Linked DNA regions of Homo sapiens: region 2 is linked to region 1. Evidence: promoter capture Hi-C in 16 types of primary human blood cells and fetal thymus (Javierre and others, 2016). All regions are on one chromosome and are shown on one strand. The core of a region is centred on a gene start or on the middle of the fragment in contact, and the rest is flanking DNA. Distances in the headings are between cores, read along the strand shown. Region 1 holds the start of GHSR (growth hormone secretagogue receptor). Region 2 overlaps NCEH1 (neutral cholesterol ester hydrolase 1).

The links. The method cuts DNA at HindIII sites, captures the fragments that hold promoters and counts their contacts. A CHiCAGO score of 5 or more calls a contact.
Region 2: a contact is called between a fragment that was not itself captured here and the fragment with the promoter of GHSR in region 1, in 1 of 17 cell types (activated CD4 T cells). The highest score is 5.9, in activated CD4 T cells.

The regions. Positions count from the first base shown.
Region 1 is chr3:172,446,537-172,451,667 of GRCh38, reverse strand. GHSR (growth hormone secretagogue receptor) reads left to right here and starts at 3,212. Exons shown (of 2, transcript NM_198407.2): 1 at 3,212-4,050. The coding sequence starts at 3,255. RefSeq lists enhancers at 1,333-1,833, 1,834-2,334, 3,286-4,053. The HindIII fragment of the contact is 14,293 bases long and covers 1-5,131 here.
Region 2 is chr3:172,630,667-172,635,745 of GRCh38, reverse strand. NCEH1 (neutral cholesterol ester hydrolase 1) reads left to right here. Exons shown (of 5, transcript NM_020792.6): 5 at 1,654-5,079. The coding sequence ends at 2,271. Among named protein-coding and RNA genes, the nearest start is that of LINC02068, 38 kb to the right of the region's middle. The HindIII fragment of the contact is 763 bases long and covers 936-1,698 here.

The DNA.
Region 1 (5,131 bases), core at 1,963-4,462:
GAAGTGGATCTCATTGGCCAAAGATGGGACAATTTGAGTGTCTAAAAGAAAACAATCGCCGTAACTGATTGGTATGCACTTACTATATAAAAATCCACAAGTCAATAATAATACTCTTTACACCATTCATAGAACAAGGCATACTGAATGTCACTCCAAAATGCTTTTGTGTCCGTTGTCTGAATGGTTGAGCAAGTTTTCCTTTTTCTGATGGAACTGAACTTTTCCAAGATCCAGCTCAGATGCTGCTTCCTCTGAGAGGCCTTCCCTAAAGCCTCCACGTGGTTCATTCATTCTCTGAATTCCAACAGGGCTCATTGTACATGCCTCTTTAAATGCACCTATCAATACTGTACTAGCATTACTTATTTAACTGTATTTTTCTCTCTAGACTATAAGTTTATAAATATAGGATCTGTCTGGGTTTTATTTATTTTGTTATCCTAGTACCTACCACTTACTAGAGATAGTTTTATATACGGTATTACATAATATTTCACATGTTGTGAATAAATAGAGCAACTACAATAGCACCCTCTGTTTCTTCTTGGTCATGCAATATAGATTTGTCTATATTTTAGAAACTGGTTGAGTGCCATTAAATGGCTGGCTATTTTAGCTAACATGAAAATTTTTTTTATCACAATAGTTTTGGTGGTTTTTGTTTTCAGTTTTTTCAACTATCAGCCATAGCTTTAGCACTGAGTAGACTAGAAATATATCCAACAATATTTTCCTGATTCTCAGTCTTAGGCAATAACTTCCCATAGTATTCTGATTTATCCCAGTCCACTTTCTCTCCCTTTCTTTCCACATACATCAACCTACTGATAATATAGGTCAGGGAGTAACAAAGTTATTGATTAAATAAAAACTTGTTTGTAATTGGTAGTTTGACTTAGTTGTAATACTTAAAAAATAGTAGTCTGAAATTAATGTTTTAAAAACTCAATTTGGGGCCGGGCACAGTGGCTCACGGCTGTAATCCCAGCACTTTGGGAGACCGAGGCGGGCAGATCACGAGGTCAGGAGTTCGAGACAAGACTGGCCAGTATGGTGAAACCCTGTCTCTTCTAAAAATACAAAAAAAAATTATCCAGGCGTGGTGGCACACGCCTGTAGTCCCAGCTACTAGAGAGACTGAGGCAGAAGAGTTGCTTGAACCTGGACTTATGCGCTCAGAAGTCCAAACGGGTGGGAGATCCAATACTGGGAGGCGGAGGTTGCAGTGAGCAGAGATCGCGCCACTGCACTCCAGCCTGGGCGACAGAGGGAGACTCCGTCTCAAAACAAAACAAAACAAAACCAGCAAAACAAAACAAAACAAAGCAAAACGAAACAAAACTCAGTTTGGTCCAATGTCTAACACACCAGCGGCAACCAAACCACTATGTTAAATTTCCTGTATCAAACTTCTCTCATGTAGTAATTTACTGCATGGAGTCTTTCACGCATTTGTGCACACATTCAGTCTTAGGTCTTTGTGGACTTTTAAGTATTAACAATTTAGGTAGTAGAGGTGGTACAAACTGTCTGTGAAAGGCAAGTACAAACGCATTCAACTGAGGGGGATACTCTCTCATACACAGTACGTGGTATCTCATCGGGTGAGCGCCGATGTGTATGGTCAAGGCAGTGACTAACGCCGGCCTGTGCTTCGTGGGAGTCTGCCCTGCTCCTCCGTGGGGTAGGACTGAGGCGTTAGAAGCGCAAGTTAAAAACGGTGGGAGTGACAGGGAAGCCATTCCTCCAGCGGCGCTTTGCGGTAGGATGGATGTGGCGCTGGCCACAGTGCTGAATATGTTCCTGGGGCGGTCCCGAGGTCGGTGGGCCGGGAGGGGCCGGTCGGATTTGTGAATTCGCTGGCAACTGGCAGTCTCATGCCTTCGGGTGCTGATTTCTGGCTCTGAGCAGGAGACGCACAGACCGCGTCCAGAGGGTCACCTTGCTAGTGTAGGGGTGGCCTTTGACCTGTTCCCACCGGCACAGCTTCTACTTCTCAACAGCAACGCGTCTTCTATTTATTGAGTGCCTCCGGTGGTCCCTGACACTTGATATCACCCCCAGTGGTCCGCACAAATCATTGCAATTCAAAGAAAAAGACGTAATGCTCAGGAGGTTGAAGACCTTGCCCAAGGGAATACGGCTACTAAATGGCTGATCTCTCTCAGTTATGCCTCAAAAAATGTTTCCTGCACACTCTCGACGCGCCAGCCTCACAGCCTCTTCTTCACTTGCCGCCTCCACACACCTCCAACCCTGCCTTTTTCCTTTCTCCTGTTCCCTCCCTGACCAACCTCGGCACCCCGCCACCAGGTTTGCATCAAGCAAAAGTAATATACCCTACAGCAGACTCTCTACCACTACCGAGTGATACAAAGGACTGGGATTCTGGACAGGGTTTACTCACATATCTTGCCCCTGTGCGCTCAGAAGTCCCAACCGGGTGGGAGATCCGACACTGGTCCCCGAGTCCCCAGCTCGCTGTGTGACCTTGGACAAGTAGTCACATCGCTGAACCTGGGTCCTATAACTGCGTGAGACTATTCTTTGGTGCTCACCGGTATGAATACAAACACAAGGTCCTTCTTTTCTCTCTCTATCCCCCTTCCCAAGTCGAGTTGGTCAAGCTCGCTTTTTCTTTCCACCAGGGCCATAGCCAGCTGCAGCCTTGTGGAGGAAGAAATCAGGTCCCAGCTGCTAAAGGTGTCCTCCCCACCGCCACCGTCGTCTTCACCCCCACCCCCGGGTGTGACCTGTCCTTCCGGGGCACACTAGTCCAGCGTCGCCCAGGGCTTCGGAGAGAGCGCCTCACGCTCCCGCTTCGCGGCGCCTGGTCCCTGCGGTCCCCACTCGCTGCGACGCTTTGGGAAGTGCGAGATGGAACTGGATCGAGAACGCAAATGCGAGGCAGGGCTGGTGACAGGTATGCGTGTGGGCGCCGGCCGGAGGATGTGTTGGGAGAAACTTTGGGGGAGTTGGTGGGGGAAAGGGGAGGTGTCAGAGAAAGCAGTGGGTCACTCTCTCACCCACTGACCACCAGTCTCTCTCCCTCTTCCTTGTCCCCATCTCACCTTCTTCCTCGGCTTCTGCCTCTCACCTCCCTCTCTTTCTTCTCCAAGCATCCTCCCTACGCGTCTGCACCCGCTCCTCCCTCGCACCCTCCCGCGCCTAAGCGGACCTCCTCGGGAGCCAGCTCGGTCCAGCCTCCCAGCGCAGTCACGTCCCAGAGCCTGTTCAGCTGAGCCGGCAGCATGTGGAACGCGACGCCCAGCGAAGAGCCGGGGTTCAACCTCACACTGGCCGACCTGGACTGGGATGCTTCCCCCGGCAACGACTCGCTGGGCGACGAGCTGCTGCAGCTCTTCCCCGCGCCGCTGCTGGCGGGCGTCACAGCCACCTGCGTGGCACTCTTCGTGGTGGGCATCGCTGGCAACCTGCTCACCATGCTGGTGGTGTCGCGCTTCCGCGAGCTGCGCACCACCACCAACCTCTACCTGTCCAGCATGGCCTTCTCCGATCTGCTCATCTTCCTCTGCATGCCCCTGGACCTCGTTCGCCTCTGGCAGTACCGGCCCTGGAACTTCGGCGACCTCCTCTGCAAACTCTTCCAATTCGTCAGTGAGAGCTGCACCTACGCCACGGTGCTCACCATCACAGCGCTGAGCGTCGAGCGCTACTTCGCCATCTGCTTCCCACTCCGGGCCAAGGTGGTGGTCACCAAGGGGCGGGTGAAGCTGGTCATCTTCGTCATCTGGGCCGTGGCCTTCTGCAGCGCCGGGCCCATCTTCGTGCTAGTCGGGGTGGAGCACGAGAACGGCACCGACCCTTGGGACACCAACGAGTGCCGCCCCACCGAGTTTGCGGTGCGCTCTGGACTGCTCACGGTCATGGTGTGGGTGTCCAGCATCTTCTTCTTCCTTCCTGTCTTCTGTCTCACGGTCCTCTACAGTCTCATCGGCAGGAAGCTGTGGCGGAGGAGGCGCGGCGATGCTGTCGTGGGTGCCTCGCTCAGGGACCAGAACCACAAGCAAACCGTGAAAATGCTGGGTGGGTCTCAGCGCGCGCTCAGGCTTTCTCTCGCGGGTCCTATCCTCTCCCTGTGCCTTCTCCCTTCTCTCTGAGTCTCCATCTCTATTTCCCCCTGAGTCGCTACCTCTTTCTTCAGTTTCTCTGGGCCTCTGTCTCTCTGCGTTTCTCTCAATTATTCTCTCCTCTTGCTTTCTTGAGTGATGTTTTTGATCTCTCAATCTTTCTCTCTGTCTCTGTCTCTCTCTCTCCTCCCCCTTTACTTTGTCAGTGTCTTTCTTACCGTCTCTATCTCTTTGTGTCTCTTTCTTCCTGTCTCTCCTTTCTCTCTTTCATGCAAAAATGTCCCATATTTGTATTTCCCTAAAATAAATTTTATATCAGCCCAGAAACTCCACTTTAAAAATCGAGATATCTTATAAAAGTCCATTGTGGTCTTTAAGCGTTAAAAGTGAGGACTGACTTCCTGCCTCAAGTAGGATTTGTGAATATCTAAGTTACATTAAGAAAAGCAGGGTTTGGATCTAGAAAGCGTTCAGCGGTAAATTCAACCAAAGACATGATCAATTTGGATAATCCTCTTAGAGATTATTCATTTTTCTTTCAATATTGTGATTTGTTTTCTGCCCTGCATTTTTTCAGATAATTGCATCAATTCTGTTTACCCTGCTGCTGTTCATACAGCTTTGTAAGGAAGTCAGTGACAAATCAGTGAAGTCTCATTTGTTTTTATGATTACCTGCCTCTTCAGGTAGGATAGACTAGGATAAGGTAAGGATAAACTAGATTAAACAAAGCTCCAACAGGAGGAAAGGAGACTTTGTGGAAACCAACAGAATTCACTACTTCCCCAAATGACCCTTCAGGAACATCTGGGCACAATGTCATAACTGGATTTGCTGAATGTTTATTGCACAAATTCAGCTTCTTTAAGTATATGTGTTTGGTACAAGTGAAGTAATAATAAATATGGTTACAGCCCAGCAAAATATTAACTCTACTTGCATTTTCAAAACCAAGGTCTGTATATTTTATTATTTAGATATTATAGTCAAGACTTCATACTTAATGGCATATTTTAAGGCTTCTTAGAAGCCATTCC
Region 2 (5,079 bases), core at 68-2,567, 190 kb before region 1:
GTAGGAAGATGAGTCATTGGAGGAAGTATCACCTATGAGTCTTTGTAAAGTCCCTGATTACAGTCAGTGTTAGAGAAGGGCTGACATCCCTTGCTTCTCAGGGCTATGTATGGAACTCCAGTATCCCCTGCTCCTTTTTCATGTTTGACTTGCAAATCGGAGTATTTTTGCTTAAATTCCAGTTCCTAAGATTGTTCCTTACAACTTTGAGCCAAATTAAAACCTTAAAATTTGTTTCCCCAACTTTTTTTTAATGTAAAAGAAAGAAATTAAACGATTCAGCCATTTAAATATTATCTTACAAGTTACTATGAGCTTTACCTGGTTTAATTCTTTGAAAACTATATCTAGCTTCTAATAGCACCCCAATTTTTTTGGCAAGTGGGAAAAAGCACATTTTCTTCCTGTTATGGATGAAGTAACTTAAGACATCTTTGTCTTCTCACCTCCAAATTTCATTTGGTGTCCTCAAATACCATCTGTCATTCTAATTATGATGTACCTTGGCTTCTAACTCTTTTGCTATAATTCAAGAACTTGATTTTCCATTTGGCATTGGCAAGTTTTCCATCCAAATATGGTCAGAAGAGAGTCTTGGCTCAGTGGAGAGAACATTCTTGGCTTTGAAGCCAGACAGCACTGGGATCTAACCCAGGACCCACCGTTGAGTGCTGCGGGGCCCTGGATAAGTCCCTTAACCTCTCTGAGCCTCAGAAAAACGAGGACAGTGTCATCTGATTGCAGGGCTGTTGCAAGGACTTAGTGAGGTGATGTGTATACAATTTTTGGCACATATTCAAAGTGCTATTTACTGACCATTCTTGCTTTTGGAGAGCAGTCATATCTCACCTGGGAATGGGTTTCTAAAGTCCAAGTATGAAGCAGAAGTGTATGGCTAAAGTTACCTTGAAGATCATTTAGTTGTCTATGAAGCTTCATGACTAGTTAGCTTTCTTTTAGATGTTACACGACAAATATATAATTTTGCACACTAGAATTACAAAATGGGGCAATGTTAACACTGTGGGGAGGTGTTGGGGGACTGAGATCTGTTGAGGTAGGGGATTCATTCACATTCCCATGACAACTTCACTCTGGCATATGCTCATTATGTAGAATGGAGGGTGCATTGCCAGAACTATTTAAATTCTGTCTCACCAAGCGTGAAGATGCTCACCAGAAAGCATACCCTGAGGTCCTACTTAAACACTCAGGAGTCTCATAATCTGCTTATTAAGTTTTTTCTGCCCCTCTCTTCTGGAAGAATAAGACTAATTTTTTTCCCCCTAGGAAGCCATGACCTTTTTGGGGGTTTTGTAGGGAATAAAAAATTAAATAAGGTTCACACATTATCCATTCATAATACCTAGGTGTCTTAACTGCCTAAAGATAGATACAAGTACAGGGTTCACTCAAAACTGAGTTGTAAACATCATACCTTTCTTAGTTAAATATCTAGCAGCTTGATAGGGTGGTGATGGTAATGATGGAGAATTATTTTTTAAACTTTATTATTTATACAGTGCCTGGTAGAAATGTAACACTTATACCATTGACAGATTCAGAGTAACACATGAAGCTACTCTACAGGGTATGGTTCCTATAAAAGAAGGCATGCAAAATGAAATAATGTATTTGCTTCCTCTTCTCTAGTTTACTCAAGATGCCAGCCTAAAAAATAAGCTCAAACTACAAGCTTTAATTTATCCAGTTCTTCAAGCTTTAGATTTTAACACACCATCTTATCAGCAAAATGTGAACACCCCAATCCTGCCCCGCTATGTCATGGTGAAGTATTGGGTGGACTACTTCAAAGGCAACTATGACTTTGTGCAGGCAATGATCGTTAACAATCACACTTCACTTGATGTGGAAGAGGCTGCTGCTGTCAGGGCCCGTCTAAACTGGACATCCCTCTTGCCTGCATCCTTCACAAAGAACTACAAGCCTGTTGTACAGACCACAGGCAATGCCAGGATTGTCCAGGAGCTTCCTCAGTTGCTGGATGCCCGCTCCGCCCCACTCATTGCAGACCAGGCAGTGCTGCAGCTCCTCCCAAAGACCTACATTCTGACGTGTGAGCATGATGTCCTCAGAGACGATGGCATCATGTATGCCAAGCGTTTGGAGAGTGCCGGTGTGGAGGTGACCCTGGATCACTTTGAGGATGGCTTTCACGGATGTATGATTTTCACTAGCTGGCCCACCAACTTCTCAGTGGGAATCCGGACTAGGAATAGTTACATCAAGTGGCTAGATCAAAACCTGTAAAGGAGCAAAACTTCCAGAAGCCTCGAGCCCCTCTTGACCTCCTACACCTGCTTTGGAAAGACATGCACTTTTTAGTTGACTAATTCTTCCTCCCATTCCCCTCTACTTGCGAGTTATGGAATTTCTATTCCATAACTGAAGTCTTTATGATAACCTAATTTTTAAAAATGAATTTGACTAACTTAAGTGCAAAACATGTAAATTTGGTTCCCAGAGTGGGCCAATCTCTCTGTTCTTGTTATCTTAGCCAACTATACTGATACCTACAGCTACAGAAAGCAGGACTAGGAACTGGAAATAACTTTGGGTCCTGCCTTCATTAGGACGTTCTTTTTAGAAGCAGTTCTTCCAGCTCTGGATCATAGAGTGACCTTTAATAAGTTAAAAAAACGAGGACTCCTTAATTCTGCTAGAGTTAACCTTGAGTTCAGAGCAGTATTAAATGCGTGCACTTTCAGGTCAGTACTGGGGACCAAGTACCCTCTGGTCTTTTGTGAATGGATGGTTTTGTTTCCTATGGGAATTTTGGCAAAGGTTTTCTGGAAAGAACAAGTTTCTCAAAGGACTTTCTTCCTCTAGAATGTTCATTTTATGAGATCGCTATCTGTAAGTCCAGTTGGATTACAGGAATACTTGAAAGTTACTTTCTACCACTATTAGAAAATATGAAGTCGCATGCACTGGATATCTATATATCATTAGGTTTTTGTTGTGTTTTTGGTTATGCTGTCCCCCTTCTCCTTGGGGAGATATTTGGGAGCAAACTTATTTAGATTTAGAGTAAACTTTTCATTATAGAGCAAGTAAAAACAGACAAATGAAACAACCTAGTGTTTCACATAAAAATACTTCTGACATAAAGTACCAAGAGCAGTGTGAATATACTTGGCATAGTCAAAAAAGAAAATACATTTAATATTAGTTCAAAATTGTTAAAAATACCTTTAGAAGGTCTAGTCTATTATTGAAAACTCAATTTTTTCACTTATATGGCTTTAAAATGGAGCTATTTTGCTACAATATAATGTATTGTTTATTTTTTTAAGTTATTTAATGTTAATATACATAGCTAGACTTAAGGTTTTTCAGAAAGATGTCCATAATAAATATTAAAAACAATGGTATTTTTTAAAAAACTGCCTTAGGGTTTTAAAACCTTCCCTACAGTTATAACCACGTGTAATTTTGTGGAAATGATATAACAGCTATTAATACTACTATAACATAGGCATAAATATTTTCGTGTTTATATGCATATACAAGTTAAAATAATTAGAAACTATGACTGCGCCTAGTAAAGTCATCTAGGTTTATAGTTCAGTAGCTTAGGCAAGGCACACACTGCTCATCTCCGCTTTTTAGGGTCAGAGGAACACAAGCTCATGTTCTGAGTGAAGGGCGTACACTGGCACCTGGTGTTGCCTAGATCCCCCATCTCCTCCTTCCAGCCAGGTCTGGAAGTTTCAACAGCCCAAGCTTAACTTCATGTAAAGTCTTCACTGCCAGTGGGAACATCTTTGACACAACAAGACACTCCAATTGTGATTTGAGTTGAGGATCTCTGCCTGCCTTCCTGCCGTCCTTCCTTCTTCCCCGATCCATGCTACTTTTAGGGGCTGCGGAGAGCAGCAGCAGAGCTGAGTAATGATACAGGGCACCACGGAGAGAAAGTAGAACCATTTCACTCCTGGGAAGATGGGGTATTTCCCACTTCCAGCAACGAAATAACAAATGAAAAGTTGCATACTTATTGATGTATTGTATGAGCCAGTAGCATTTTATGTACAAAACAGAAGTCAATGCAACAGTATGTATGTGTGCCTGTGTGTGTATAAAAATAACCATTGAAGCTAACTTGCTAATGTACTTAGGCAAGCCACTTCCCATCTCTGGGCCTCGTCTTTCCTCCCTCTAAAATCAAAGAGCTGAATTATGTGATCCTTGAGGTCTCTTCCACTTATAATACCAACTGTCTTGTCAGACTGGCAAATTATATTGGCCTCTCCTTATGTGGTGGTTTTTTTGGTAGGTCATAGTTCCTTATACACAGACACCTGCATCATCGAAGGTCTTTTTTTCCTAAAAAAAAAAAATGGGATTTTAGTTCTTATTCTGTGATAACTATCCTCCTCATATAATACTATTCTTTTTGACACCATTTGAAGGAACCAATATTTGGACCTTATTTTGAGGTTGTCTGTCTCGAAGAAAAAGAAAATAAAATGTATAGGCAGGGTTCCTTCAATTGGCATTTTCCCCAGAATTGTGAGCCAAAGCCTATAGTAATTGCAGACAGCAAATGATTCCGGATCTCTAAAAGGCTCTCTCAGATGAAAAGGGAGTAAAGGAAAAAAGAGGTCAACCACTGTTTCTGATAATGTACTTGAGTTTCATTGTTCTTTTAGTTTGTATTCTTATAAAAAATGTTTACACTCTGCAGATTGATTTTTTTTTTTTAGTACTGTGGCTTTCTTTTCCTATTTTATGAAAAAAATGATAATCTTTTTGTAAAATTGTCTGTGAAATATAAACATTAATATATAAAGAAAAACCTTGAAGTGCTGTATAGTGAAGTATAAATTAATGTTTTATTGATTTGTGAAGAATTTAAGACTATTATATAATTATCTTGGTGGATCTATTTTATGCATGACCTTTTAACCTTTGACTTTGCTTATTTCCCACTACGAAGGGGAAGGTAGATTTTATGAATGATTTTAATAGCAAATATATTTTATAAAGTGAAAATCCAGTGTGGAGGTAGCAAAGCATCTATCTATTCTGAATCATGTTTGGAAATAAAATTGC